3 separate regions of the Homo sapiens genome follow, and regions 1 and 3 are each linked to region 2. Evidence: promoter capture Hi-C in 16 types of primary human blood cells and fetal thymus (Javierre and others, 2016). All regions are on one chromosome and are shown on one strand. The core of a region is centred on a gene start or on the middle of the fragment in contact, and the rest is flanking DNA. Distances in the headings are between cores, read along the strand shown.

Region 1 (4,240 bases), core at 1,653-4,152, 290 kb after region 2:
AAAATACAATAGAAAACATGGGGCCATTCTAGACTTAAAAATATTTTAAAAAACCGATGTGTACTCTTAGGTTGAATCTATTTTCTACATTTTTGAGACAGTTGGGAAACTGAATATTAGCTGTATATTAGGTGAAATTATAGAATTAGTAATTTTATTTTGTGGTAATATTTTGGAAACAATTCATAAAGCAAGTGTTCTTATTTTAAAAGATGCCTATTAAAATAAATATTTTTGACAGAAGAAACTTTGAAAGGGATAGTACAAACAGAGTCAGTAAGACAGTAATTGATAGACTGCGAAGTCAGAGTAGAGGAAGAAAATTGGATGCTCCAGTGGTTTTTTACCTGGGTGACCAAAAGAATAACAGTGCCATGGGAAAAATGGAGATGTCAAAAGGAGCAGTTAAAAAGTGTAAAGGGGAAATACGGTGTTTCTATCATTTTAATAGTTTTATAGAAAATGTTTAGTTGATAGTGAAGTGACTCTAGTTTGTTTCCTAGTGTTACTGTTTTAAGTAGGCATGAAATTACTTTACTGTCATCTTACATAGTTTTTGTGTCCTTTCATCCTAGAAGTTGAACTTCAAGAGTACAGTTGTCTTGGTTATCAGTAGCTTTGCTGTCTTTATTTTTCTCTTTTAAACTAATAATTTTTGGATTTAACTCAGGCTTATAACCAGATTGATTATCATTTATTTCTGGAATGTATATAGGGTTTTCTTATTTATAGAATCTCTTAAAGATCTCACTGTTGTGTCTGTTTTTTAACAGGGGTGGGTACATGGTGGGAACAAGAGTTGCCTTCAACTCTAGATGACACTATTATTAATAACTAGTTGCCAGACTCTACTCTGAGAAACAGATTTCTTAATGACTCTCCAACTTTCAGGAAGTACGTGCTCAGATGGTAATTCTGAATAACAGCAAAAGCTGCTGCTATTTTCAGTACTCGTCCTTTTACTGAGTTTAAAGAGTTAATTGAACAAGGTAGAGAAATTTAGTGAAAAAGGTGTCAGCTTGTGATGAGCGCTTTATCTGGTTGTCACAGATCACTTTATTTTGTTTAAAGTTCGCTGACTTTCCAGAAGTAAGACAAACTTATTAAGGACTGTGTTATATAAGGTACACAGAAAAACTTCAAAAAATTAACTTATTAATAGTGTGTATTTTTTTCAAAGAGAGTGTGGAATGATTAATTTTACTGACTAAAAGTTTTAGGTGGCCACTCTTACAGAAAAAACCCAACACCTGTTTTGTAATATATATTTTTTTCTCTCCAGCTTCAACAATTAATACAAACCTTACAGATACAACAACAGAAGCCCCAGCCTTCCATTCTGCAGGCCCTAGATGCTGGTCTTGTTGTTCAGTTGCAAGCTCTTACGGCACAACTTACAGCTGCAGCTGCAGCTGCCAACACTCTTACTCCCTTAGAACAGGGAGTCTCCTTTAACAAGGTAGAAATTAAAATATCGGATCAAGTCTATATGAATTATTAAATATTATATACTATCATGGATTTTAATTCTATAAATAAATTTTATTGTAGACTTTCAGTATCTCCTGTACACTGTATAAGACAGTCTGAATTTTACAAAAGGTTCAAACTTCTGAAAAAAATTAAGTAATTAAAAAAATTTTTCCTAGGCCAGGCACAGTGGCTCACACCTATAATCCCCAGCACTTTGGGGGAGCGCAAGGCAGGCAGATCACTTAAGGCCAGGAGTTTGAGACCAGCCTGGCAAACATGGTGAAACCCCATCTCTATTAAAAATACAAAAATTAGCCAGATGATGCGTGCCTGTAATCCCAGCTACTGGGGAGGCTGAGGAAGGAGAATTGCTTGTACCTGGGAGGTAGAGGTTGCAGTGAGCCAAGATTGAGCAACTGTTCTCCAGCCTGGGTGACAGAGAAAGACTCTTGACTCAAAAAAAAAAAATTTTTTTTGAAACATTTTTGAAACATTTAAAATATTTTCATTTGACTAAAAATAACTAGTCAGTAAAATCTTGTATTCACCACTGAGGCAAGTGATTACTTTCTGAGCTTGTCTGATTTCTTTCATGGGTGCCACATTTTACTGTGATGCTCTGGGTTCTGTAATTTGGACCTGCAAAAATTAAAATTCTTTAATCAATATGTAAAATGTTTAAAGGAAACTTCTCTACAACTAGTCACTATACTGTAACTATAATAAGTTGATGCCTAAATTATTAATAATTAAAGTGTTTCTAAAACTTAAAATCTTTCATGTACAATTTAGTGTGTGATATTCTTAGTATGCTTATTAATTATGGGAATATCATACTACTTGGAAGTGGTGTTCATATTTTTAAAATTTGTACTTTTTATAGGAAAGTAGATACTGATTTATTGGATTATTACTTAGACTGTTTTGGCCAGCAGCTTCTAAGTCTAATATAGTCTAACACTAAATAGCTAGACCACATAAAAAGCCTTTAAATTGAGCATTCAGAAGAATAACAGCATTCTAAGATGAGAACCATATTAGGAATAGATCCATTGAATATGGCCCTAGATGTTTTATCAAGCTTATTACCATGGAAAAACCACCTAATTATTTTAATTCTTAGTCTTCTGTAAAATTTGAGTATTAGTGTTTATCCTGCCTCTATCATAATTTGTTTTGTTATGTAAGATAATACATATCAAAATGCTTTAAAGAAAAGATCTACTCAAAACACTTTATAATAGTATAAAGTGATACAAAATGTTTATTTACACATTAAATGATAGATATAACGGAATGCCATTGACATTTAAAATAGCATTTGTAACTTGTATTTGTGTGAAGCACTTTTTAATATGTCTGTTTCTCCTTCTTTCCCCCAGAAGTTGATGGATAGGTTTGATTTTGGGGAAGACTCTGAGCATAGTGAAGAACCCAAAAAGGAAATTCCAGCTTCACAACTGTAAGAATTTTTTCTTTATAGCCATAGTTTTTTTATATTTAGTGGGATGTTGCCATCTGAATTACTAAGTATACTTAGTAAGTTGGGATTATTATTTCAAGCTGTTGAACCTCTAACATTATACAAAGGTGGTAGAGATATGTCTTGTTGTCTCTTTGTATTATTTTGAGTCTTTTCTCAGATCTTTGCAAATAGACTGTATCAAAGTTACCTATAAGAACATTGATACATATTGGTAAATCTGGTTGTAATATTTTCCATATTAGGCTTTAAGTTATTTAACTTAATTGTAAGAGTGGTTGGAATACTAGGAATGAAGCTTGCTTCTAGTGCTTAGAGGCCACTTCTAGAAAGCATATGAAATTGTGGAAACACATCAACCTAATGAGAATTAAGGATTGGAGTTATGAGGATTTTTTTTTTTGTAAAGAAATGTGTTGTATGTTTTTATTAAATCAGTTACTTTTTTTTCCCTAAACAATTCTGCAGTGCCCAAGGTTCTGTGAGGGTATGTGAATGGACTAGTAGGGGGAAGATGTTGGAGGAGGCAGGGGTAGAAGTTGGGAGAATGGAAGAAGGATGAATGGTGAAAGTCTGTGGGTCTCTTGTTTCAAACAGAAGTTATTAGTTGTATATATTGGGGTAATAAACAAAAACATAATTTTAGAATATGTTAGATACAAATGTATCATTTTAGTAAAATGATTCCCCTTGACAAAATTTAAAAACTAGTATTTTAGATTATGAATTGCAAACTTGCAAGCAGCATTTGAAATCATGTTGATCAGTGTCCTAAACAATGTAAGAATCTCCTTTAACAGTCCTGATGATACAGTTTATTTATCCAGTATTTTAATGCTTTCTGTAATGAGAAGTTAACTAATTGTTATTATTGTGTGTTCTTTTGTTGAGCTGAATCCTGTTTCCTTTATTTTCTATTAATATACACTGACCCATGTTTTGCTTTCTGAAGCAAGGAATCAAATTTACTCCGCTATCTTTAGAGATGTAGCTTTTCATTATTTGAAGACAGGTATCATTCTTCCCCTTAGGTTTATTTGCTTCAGATGAAGTACACTTTTTTCCAACTGTTTCAAGACTTCTCACCATCCTGTTTGGCTCTTTTGGGATGCCCTTTTTATTGTTAATGTCTTACCTTGTGGCACCCAGAATCCCAGGTGTATTCCAGGTGTGAATTTCCAAGAATATAGTTAAACTATTATTTTTTCTTATTTAAACAGTATCTGTCTCTGTTAACATACCTAATAATGTATATGATTTTCTAAAGGAAGAATATTAGTTTTA
Region 2 (4,269 bases), core at 191-2,690:
CATTGAAAAGTAAGCGAGCCAGCTAGGAGGACAAGCTTCTACCTCTGCTCATTCCCCCCACCACCCCCCCACCGCCCCAGCCCCACTGCCTTCCTCATCCCAAATATTGTATGAATCAAGACAGTGGTTCCAAACAATTATATTTCTCCTTCCCAGTGCTTACATGTGGCCTGAAAATGCAGCGCCACCGGGGATACTGGCGCCTCCCGGAGCAAAAGTCACTGCCTCCCGGGGAGTCCTGGCTCGAGGTTTCTCCCTGGCGCAAATGCTATGGTGTTGGCTTTTGCGCGGCCCTCTCGCCTTCTCCAACAAAAACAGACAGGCTCGGCGGACCCGCCGGAGTCTCCCTCTACCTGTCCGACAGCCCTGTCACGCCTGCGGACGGCTCTGGGCAGGCGGCATGGACGAGGTCCCGCGGGAGTCACCCACACAAAGGCACCTTGTGCCTCTGCACTCGGGCCCCCGGGTCGCCGGGCACCGCACCGGGGCCAGGCAGGGAGAGCGCCCCCCGGCCCGAGTGCCGAGTCCCGAGATCGGCATCCCCAGCCCTCAACCGCCACAGAAAGGCCACCCCTACTCCCTGGTTTAAAGATAGGGCTCCCCTCGGCTTGCCACAATCCGCACCCTGGAAAGGAAGAGCTCGGAGCAGGTACGAGAGATAGGAGCGCACAGGCCACTCGGCAGAAGTTTGCATTGTCACCGGGCTGTGCCCTCACCGCTTCTCGCCGGGAGGAAGGGCCAAGTACCCTCTTCCCCAGCTCCTCGTCCGCCCCATCCCCGAGGCTGGAGGACTCCGGACCCCCCCAAGGCCCGCGCACCTCTAGTCCAGTCCACCACTTGTTTGGGGCTCCACTTGGTCACGGGTTCCATGGTAAACCGCTTCGCCTCTCGCTGGGCTGGAGAGTCGCAGATAAAGTGCTGCTGCCTGCGCTCCGGTGCCCCTTCCCGGGAGGGCGCGCCCGCGGCTGCTCCCCTGCGCCCGAGCGACTCCGTCAAGACTGCATGGCCGCGGTCAGCCAGTCGTCCCAGCGCGGCTCCGCCAGGGGAGCCCGGCCCTCTCCCTCCAGCTGCCACAGTCCAGCTGCAGCTCCTCCTTCCCCCGCCGCCGCCGGGATCCCGGGCACAGCTGCTGCTCCCGAGCGACGGCAGCTGCAGGCACGCCGGGCTGCGACCCCAGACCCCTGGCCTCGGCTCGGCACGGGAGCCTCCCGGCCCGCGACCACTTCCTCGGATCTCTCGAGGCGCGATCGGCTCTCCCTCGGCCGGTCTTCTCGCCTGCTGGCTCTCCGGGGTCCCCGCTCCGCGTGCGCTGGCGTCCCGGAGCCTTCCCGGCGCAGGTCCCACCTCCTGCGCCGCCCTCCCGTGCCGCCCTGGCAGGGCCGAGCGCAGAGCGTGCGCGCTCGGGTTGCAAAGTTTCAGCTCCGGTTGCTGCAAACCGAATAAAAGAGAGGGCGGGGCCGAGGGTCTAGGGAAACTCGTGGGAGGGGGCGGGTCCGCCCGAAGCGGCGGACTCGGGTTACTTTCCCTCTCTAAGCCGGTCCGGCTCACACCCGCAGCGTCCCGGGCCCCGCTTTCCTTTTCAAGGGGCGGGTTGTAGATCGCGCGCGCACCCTGGAGAGCCCGCTGGTTTGTGTGAGGCCCTGGCCCTGTGGGTAGCAGAACACTCTGTCTCGCTGTGAGCAACAATACACTAAAAAAAAAAGAAAAGAAAAAAAAAAGTAAGATCTGCATGTTCTGTTCATTTTAAATGCTTTATATCGTAATACTACTCTGCCATTAAGCCGTCATTTTAGGTTTCTTAAAGTAGAACAATTTTTTTTTTTAGATGGAGCCTCGCTCTGTCGCCCAGGCTGGAGTGCAGTGGCGCGATCTCAGCTCACTGCAGCCTCTGCCTCCCAGGTTCCAGCGATTCTCCCGCCTCAGCCTCCGGAGTAGCTGGGATTACAGGCGTCTGCCACTACGCCCGGCTAATTTTTGTATTTTTAGTAGAGACAGGGTTTCACCATGTTGGCCAGACTGGTCTCGAAATCCTGAACTCAGGTGATCCGCCAGCCTCGGCCTCCCGAAGTGCTAGGATTACAGGCCTGAGCCACCGCGCCAGGCCAGAACAATTTTATTTCATTTATATGTTGACTGAAATCGTAACAATGTAACTCTTTTAATGCTATTGCTATGAAATTTCAACTTTGCGACTAAAATTAGATTGATGGCTTTTAGCGTTATATTTTGCTATATTATAATTTCATATTTACAGAGTGAGCTAATGCTCCTTGGGATTAGTCATTAACCGTGAGAGGAAAGCTGTTAGCCAAGAAAAAAAAAATAGCTCGTGCACAATTTCAGCGCCTGGCAGGGGAGGGCCCTTCCACATTCATGGACTGCAACTGGGGCCAGAGTTAATGCTAAACTGGGGGAAAATCTAATTTGAATGCCTGCCTCTCCTTCAAGTTCTCCCTGCATCCTAACCGCCCCCCCAACCCCTGCCACCCTCGCCACCACCCCTCCCCTCACCCCCCAACACCCCCCCCAACCCCCCACCCCCGCCCCGCCCCGCCCAGCAACCTCTTCCTCCCACTCTTTTTGGCACTGAATGATTCTTACTTTCAATTACGGTTATTTATTTACATCTTCCTCTTGGAGACTATTAACCCCTTGAGGGCAGAACCTACTTGATCTCATATAGAGTTTTCTCTCCTCCCTTTCTTCCTACCACCTAACTTGTAGCACCCAGCACGGGACCAAAGGCAAGGTTGGTATTTATTCATTCAGTAAATATCCGGGAATGCTTCCTATGTGCCAGCCACTGTATTCATTCAGTATTTGTTGAATTCGTGTGATATGTGCTACTTACACAGGTCTGTTTGGACGCACATGTGGAAAAATAGCTAGCAGCCAGCCTAGCATCTGATGAGCTGGAGCATCCAAGCAAAAGAAACATTTTTAAAAAGCAAAACATCAGACCCACCTCCCATTCAACTCCCCTAGAGGACTGGGCAACACAGAGACACACAACTATCAAATATAGTGATTCTTTTTCTTCATCTAGCGAAAGTGACTGGCAGACCACACAAGTTGGCAAAGGCAATGACAAAATTCCTGATATAGTAGTTGTCCTTAAAAAAAAAAAAAGACCTTTAAACTTAATGACATCCAGCATTAACCATCTTTACAGCAGTCAGCAGAGAGAAGGACCTTGACACTGGTTCACTGGAAAGGGTAACCAACCTGATGCACACCTTTTGTTTCAGCAATCACTGCCTGTTGTGTGATTTCTGATTATGATTAGGGTGACCACATAACTTACCTCCAAATCAAAATATTCTTGAGCATGAAAGAAGCAACTATCAAGAATTACATTGGAATAACATGAATAAACTGGGCCATACGGTCCCCACAATTATAAAAGAAAGGTCAAATATTAATGATTTTGCCGTGGAATTTTACTTGATGTTTTCACGTCTTCAGATTCATTGGCAGTAGTCTTTACCAGAAGAGCTAAAACACTAAAATTCTGCGAGTCAAGCAAGAGTTTGCAAAACATCCCACGGAGCCAACACACTATCTATACTTGGTACATAAATACAGCATAGCTAAAGAGGAAGGCCACGCTAAGATCTCTAACCCGGAAGACCAATTAACTATCTAAATGAATTAGCATTCTGTTTACACTTCAACTTCTGGAAGCTAATTACTATTTAAATAAAGCCTTCTACCTTAATTACAGCTGTTAGCACGTGAAAGTTTTAGGGAGGCCTGCCTTCCTAGCTGAAATGCAAACTTGAGGACATACAAAGCTATTAATGGCATACAAAGCTAATAAAGGCAGAATCTTAAGTAAATGGCTTTAAAAATTAAGTATATATAAAAGGATAATTTGTAAATTTGCTAACTTTTCTTCTCTGCTAGCTAAAATCTGTAGCTATTACACCATATGTTCACGCACATTACCAAACTGCAGCTATGCCATCTTCCAGATCAGAACTCTTCATTTGTGTCTTAATGTTTACTACAATTCCTCGCACATACAAGGAGTTCAATAAGCCTTTTTAAAATTGAATTAATATGTAGAACAGATACTAGAACCCAGATCTTCTAGATTTCTTTCCAGCTCTTCCGTTTTTCTGACTTTGACCCTTCTTGCATGTTTAAGTCATTTATTCAGTTGATGAAATACGTATTAGGTACTCACTAAACTAAGCACTAGGAGGATTCAGAAATGATGAGTAGCCTTTTAGATCAAAAACACCATGTGACTTTCTAAAGGTGGAT
Region 3 (4,756 bases), core at 317-2,816, 420 kb before region 2:
CATCATTCCTATAAAATGCCCGTTGAAAGAATTTTTATAGATAAATATTCACTTTTTTTTGGTAAATTGATGATAAAATTATGTATATTTACCATATACAACATGATGTTTTGAAATGTATACACATTGTGGAATGGCTAGCATGCTAATTAACTATGCATAACCACGTTTCCTTTCACCATGTTGAACCCTGACATAATTTTTTTTTCCACAAACACCTCACTCTGGAGAAGGAAATGATTTTTTTTAATTAAAATAAACATACATTGGAAATACTTAGTGCTAAAATAAGCCTGAAGGAAAGGTTGGAAGTATGATGAGTCAGAAAACTGACTGTAAAGAAACCAATTACTTAACATAAAACACCATTAAAGATAAGCCACGAAATGTAAGGTCTGCTGGGTAGGAAAGTGGCAAATGCAATGAAGCATGTCTTTAGATCATGCAGGTCTATAACCAACGGTGAATCTAGCAAAAGTTATTTTCTCTTTTGGGGAGAAACTTCTTCTTATTAAAAAAATAAAAAATGTTTCAACTTCTTGAGCACCAAGGTCAATTATTCTAAATCTTAAAACCACAGTTTTAATTTTGCTTTTTTGTTGGTTTTTGTACTTTGGAGTATTTGTCTACATTATCCTTTTTATATTTGCCATATTTAAAGTCCAAACTAAAAGCAAATTATTTTCTCTCCTCAAGTTAAATGGCTCTATCTTTTTCTTTAAAATCCATTAAGAAAGTGAAACTCCCAAAGTAAGTCCAAAAAAAAGCCCCCAAGTCTGAAAATGTGGAGCTTTTCTGGCAGTAATGCAGCTTCTGCAAGTATTGCAGACCAGATCAGGTATCAGAATTTTAAAGCTTCAGTAACAAAGCTGTCCTATTGACCCTGAGGAGATTTATGAAATCACTTTCCTGATGTTATTGAAACCAAAACACTTTCCTGGACACTGAATTCAGTCCTAAACAAAGGGCCTCCAACCAACAGCTGTCTTGGGCTGAATGAGTTAGACTCAACCTCGTGTGACGGAAAAACAGTAAACACAAGCTAACATTTAAAAGGAATTGATGGCACCGTGTAAATCAGAAGCCCAAGGAGGGCCTGGCTTCAGGTGTGGGGTTCTCTCTCACGCTCTCAAATCCACATCCTCCGGATTAGGTCCATTTTCAGACAAGCTCCTCCAGCAACTACATACCATGCGTCTTCTCAGGTGTGGGTCCTGCAGGAAAACTAATACACTCTTTGTCCATAAGTCTCAAAATAAACTCTCACTGGCTCTGGTTGGAACATGAGAGCATCCTTGCCATTCACCATGGCCCCGGTCACTAAACGTCTTCACGCCCTGGACTGGTAATACAGCCTATCCCAAAGCACCTGGACTGAGAACGGGAAATGAGTGGTTCCCAGAGTGAAACTGAGGTACTATTACTAAATTAAGGTAAATATATGTGGAATGTTAAAAAAAAAATGATGTCCAATGTTTACAAGGTATACTTCTGCCATCAGATATAATGTATTATTGCAAGTGTACCTGCTTATATTCTACTATCATATTTCTAATTTCTGCAGGCCTTGAAAACATATAACACTCCTAGATACTTACCCAGGAGGAAGAAAAGCATATGTTTATATAAAGACTTGCACATGAATGTTCGTAACAGTTCATTTGTAACATCCAAAAGTTGTATGCAACTCAGTTCCCATTAATAGGTGAATGGATTAAAAAAAAAAACAGATGAATGCATAAGTAATACTACTTGTCAATAACAAGGAATTAATTCTTGTTATATGCAACCACATAGATGAATCTCAAAATAATGACACTGAGTGAAAGAAGCAGCACAAAAAAAGAGTACATACTGAATGATTCTATTTGCATCTTCTAGGAAATGCAAACTAATCTATAAGAACAGAAAGCAAACCAAGATCAGCAATTGCCTGAGGAATAGTGAGGGTTGGATATGAGGACAGGGAGGGGCAAACAGGAAAGATTAAAGAGCTACACAAAGACACTTTTGGGAGCAATTGATGTCATTATCTTCATCAGAGGTTGACATTTTTTTCTGTAAAGTGCAAGATAGTAAATAACTTAGGCTTTGCATGTCATCTGATCTCTGTTGCAATTATTGAACTTTGCCATTGTAGCATCAAAACACTTATGGGTTTTTAAATAGGTGTATTTATTTATAAAACAGGCAACGGTCCAATTGGGTCTACACACCATAGTTTGCCAATCTCTGATCTTAATTATGGTGGTGGTTTCACAGGTGTACACACGTATCAAAGCTTATCAAATTGTATACTTTAATTATGCGTTATTTATTATAGGTCAATTCCACCTCAATAAAGCATTAAAAAATAAAAACAAAGCAAACACACTTGGGTTCCTCATCATGGATTGGATAGAGTCTAATCTTACCATGGCATACAAGTTCTTCATGTACTGGCCTCTCTTCTTCCCCAGTCAGATCCCTTGCCATTCCCTGGTAGAATGTGCTTGACACACACATCAGGCCATTCCAACTCTACATCTTTGTTGGGGTTCTCTCTGTTACCTCTCTGTCTAGAATGACCTGCTCCTACCAAGTGTCTAACTCAATCATCCTGCTTGTGCTTTGAGATTAAACTTGCACTTCCAGGATGCCTTCCACATCTTACTCCTACTATTCCCTTTGCCTTATGCTCTGTGAGATGCCTCATCTCTGTGCCCCATAATCGCCTGTGTGTTTGTATGTGCATGTGTTTGTGTACATACCTATAGACACTTGCACAATTATACTTCTTGATAATTTTAACTATATTTATATAGCTAAAATTTTCTCTTTTATATTTAGAATTACTATCCAGTCGCTGCCCCTACTATTTGACTGGAATCTCCCTCTTTCTATTAGACCTATCACAATGACTGACACATTACAAAAAAAAAAATTAAAACCCTCACTGCGTGTGGTGTCTCATGCCTGTAACACAAACACTTTGGGAGGCCGAGGAGGGAGGACTGCTTGAGCCCAAGAGTTCAAGACCACCCTAAGCAACATGTCAAGACCCTGTCCCTACAAAAGTTTTTTAAAATTAACAGGGTATGGTGGCATGCACCTGGGATCCCAGTTATTCAGGAGGTGAGGCAAGAGGATCTCTTGAGTCCAGGAGGTTAAAGCTGTAGTGAGCTCTGTTCATACCATTACACTCCAGCCTGGGTAACAGGGCAAGATCCTATCCAAAAAAAAAAAAAAAGGAAGAAACTCAACAAAGCAGCATCGTTGCTATTATTGCAGCTATTTAGCCAATAGGTACATCATTGACATCATTGTAAATAGCCAAGCTGATACTGGAAAACAATTCTATATCTAATCTCAAAAAAGCTTTCTACTAATTCATGCAAATTTATTATTGGAAGCTTACCTATATTTTACACTAGTGTCTTTTACTGATTCTCACTCTTCTTCCTTTATCTCCTAGATACACCAAGATGAAGACTGCCACCAACATCTACATTTTCAACCTTGCTCTGGCAGATGCCTTAGCCACCAGTACCCTGCCCTTCCAGAGTGTGAATTACCTAATGGGAACATGGCCATTTGGAACCATCCTTTGCAAGATAGTGATCTCCATAGATTACTATAACATGTTCACCAGCATATTCACCCTCTGCACCATGAGTGTTGATCGATACATTGCAGTCTGCCACCCTGTCAAGGCCTTAGATTTCCGTACTCCCCGAAATGCCAAAATTATCAATGTCTGCAACTGGATCCTCTCTTCAGCCATTGGTCTTCCTGTAATGTTCATGGCTACAACAAAATACAGGCAAGGTGAGTGATGTTACCAGCCTGAGGGAAGGAGGGTTCACAGCCTGATATGTTGGTGATGTCATAAGCAAAGCAGTATTTATGGAGTGCCCCATTGTCTTAGTCACATTGTAATTTTAATTATTCTTCCTAGCAAAAAAAGCCTTTGAATACTTAAAAATAGGAATTTTCCTCATAATTTTAGGCCTATTAAATCCTTTAAAGAGAATGTAATCTATTTATTTCTGATTTCTCTGTATTTACTTCATAAAAATGGTGTGTAAATTAGTACATAGCTCTCCCAAGAGTAATTGGAGCTTAAACCCAAAGAGTATTACACTGAGGCTTGTTTAAAATTATCAAGTGGCTGACTACATGGCAAATGTATCTTTCTACACCTAATATCAGAATATTGAACAATCCATCAAAAAATGAAGTGAAAACATCCATTACCTGGAGCCGCCTAGAGACTTTGGACAATTATTACATTTTTTATATCAATATAGACCTCATGGAGGATCTAGCTCATGTTGAGAGGTTCATTTTTGTTCCCTGAACGAAAGCTTAATGTGATCGAAGTGGACTGCAAAATGGGAAATTTAGAAAAAAACAAAAAACATTAGAAGTAAAACTTTCTTTGAAAAGTAACAAACAACTGAGTTTCTTCCACAATTTCTTTATAGCCTTAAGTTAGCTCTGGTCAAGGCTAAAAATGAATGAGCAAAATGGCAGTATTAACACCTTATGACATAATTAAATGTTGCTGCTAATTTTTCCTTTAAATTCCTTTCTTCTAGGTTCCATAGATTGTACACTAACATTCTCTCATCCAACCTGGTACTGGGAAAACCTGCTGAAGATCTGTGTTTTCATCTTCGCCTTCATTATGCCAGTGCTCATCATTACCGTGTGCTATGGACTGATGATCTTGCGCCTCAAGAGTGTCCGCATGCTCTCTGGCTCCAAAGAAAAG

Evidence for each region. Contacts are between HindIII fragments. The CHiCAGO score rates a contact against its expected background, and 5 or more counts as called.
Region 1: a contact is called between a fragment that was not itself captured here and the fragment with the promoter of CNKSR3 in region 2, in 3 of 17 cell types (erythroblasts, M2 macrophages and megakaryocytes). The highest score is 6.8, in erythroblasts.
Region 3: a contact is called between a fragment that was not itself captured here and the fragment with the promoter of CNKSR3 in region 2, in 1 of 17 cell types (non-activated CD4 T cells). The highest score is 5.3, in non-activated CD4 T cells.

The regions. Positions count from the first base shown.
Region 1 is chr6:154,800,689-154,804,928 of GRCh38, forward strand. It overlaps SCAF8 (SR-related CTD associated factor 8), which reads left to right. Exons shown (of 20, transcript NM_014892.5): 7 at 1,283-1,459; 8 at 2,856-2,935. Among named protein-coding and RNA genes, the nearest start is that of MIR1273C, 51 kb to the right of the region's middle. The HindIII fragment of the contact is 700 bases long and covers 2,553-3,252 here.
Region 2 is chr6:154,509,245-154,513,513 of GRCh38, forward strand. It overlaps CNKSR3 (CNKSR family member 3), which reads right to left and starts at 1,441. Exons shown (of 13, transcript NM_173515.4): 1 at 819-1,441. The coding sequence starts at 870. It overlaps LOC101928868 (a long non-coding RNA gene), which reads left to right and starts at 1,547. Exons shown (of 2, transcript XR_001744422.2): 1 at 1,547-1,718. The HindIII fragment of the contact is 4,325 bases long and covers 34-4,269 here.
Region 3 is chr6:154,086,372-154,091,127 of GRCh38, forward strand. OPRM1 (opioid receptor mu 1) reads left to right here. Exons shown (of 4, transcript NM_000914.5): 2 at 3,455-3,807; 3 at 4,581-4,756. Among named protein-coding and RNA genes, the nearest start is that of OPRM1, 50 kb to the left of the region's middle. The HindIII fragment of the contact is 1,426 bases long and covers 854-2,279 here.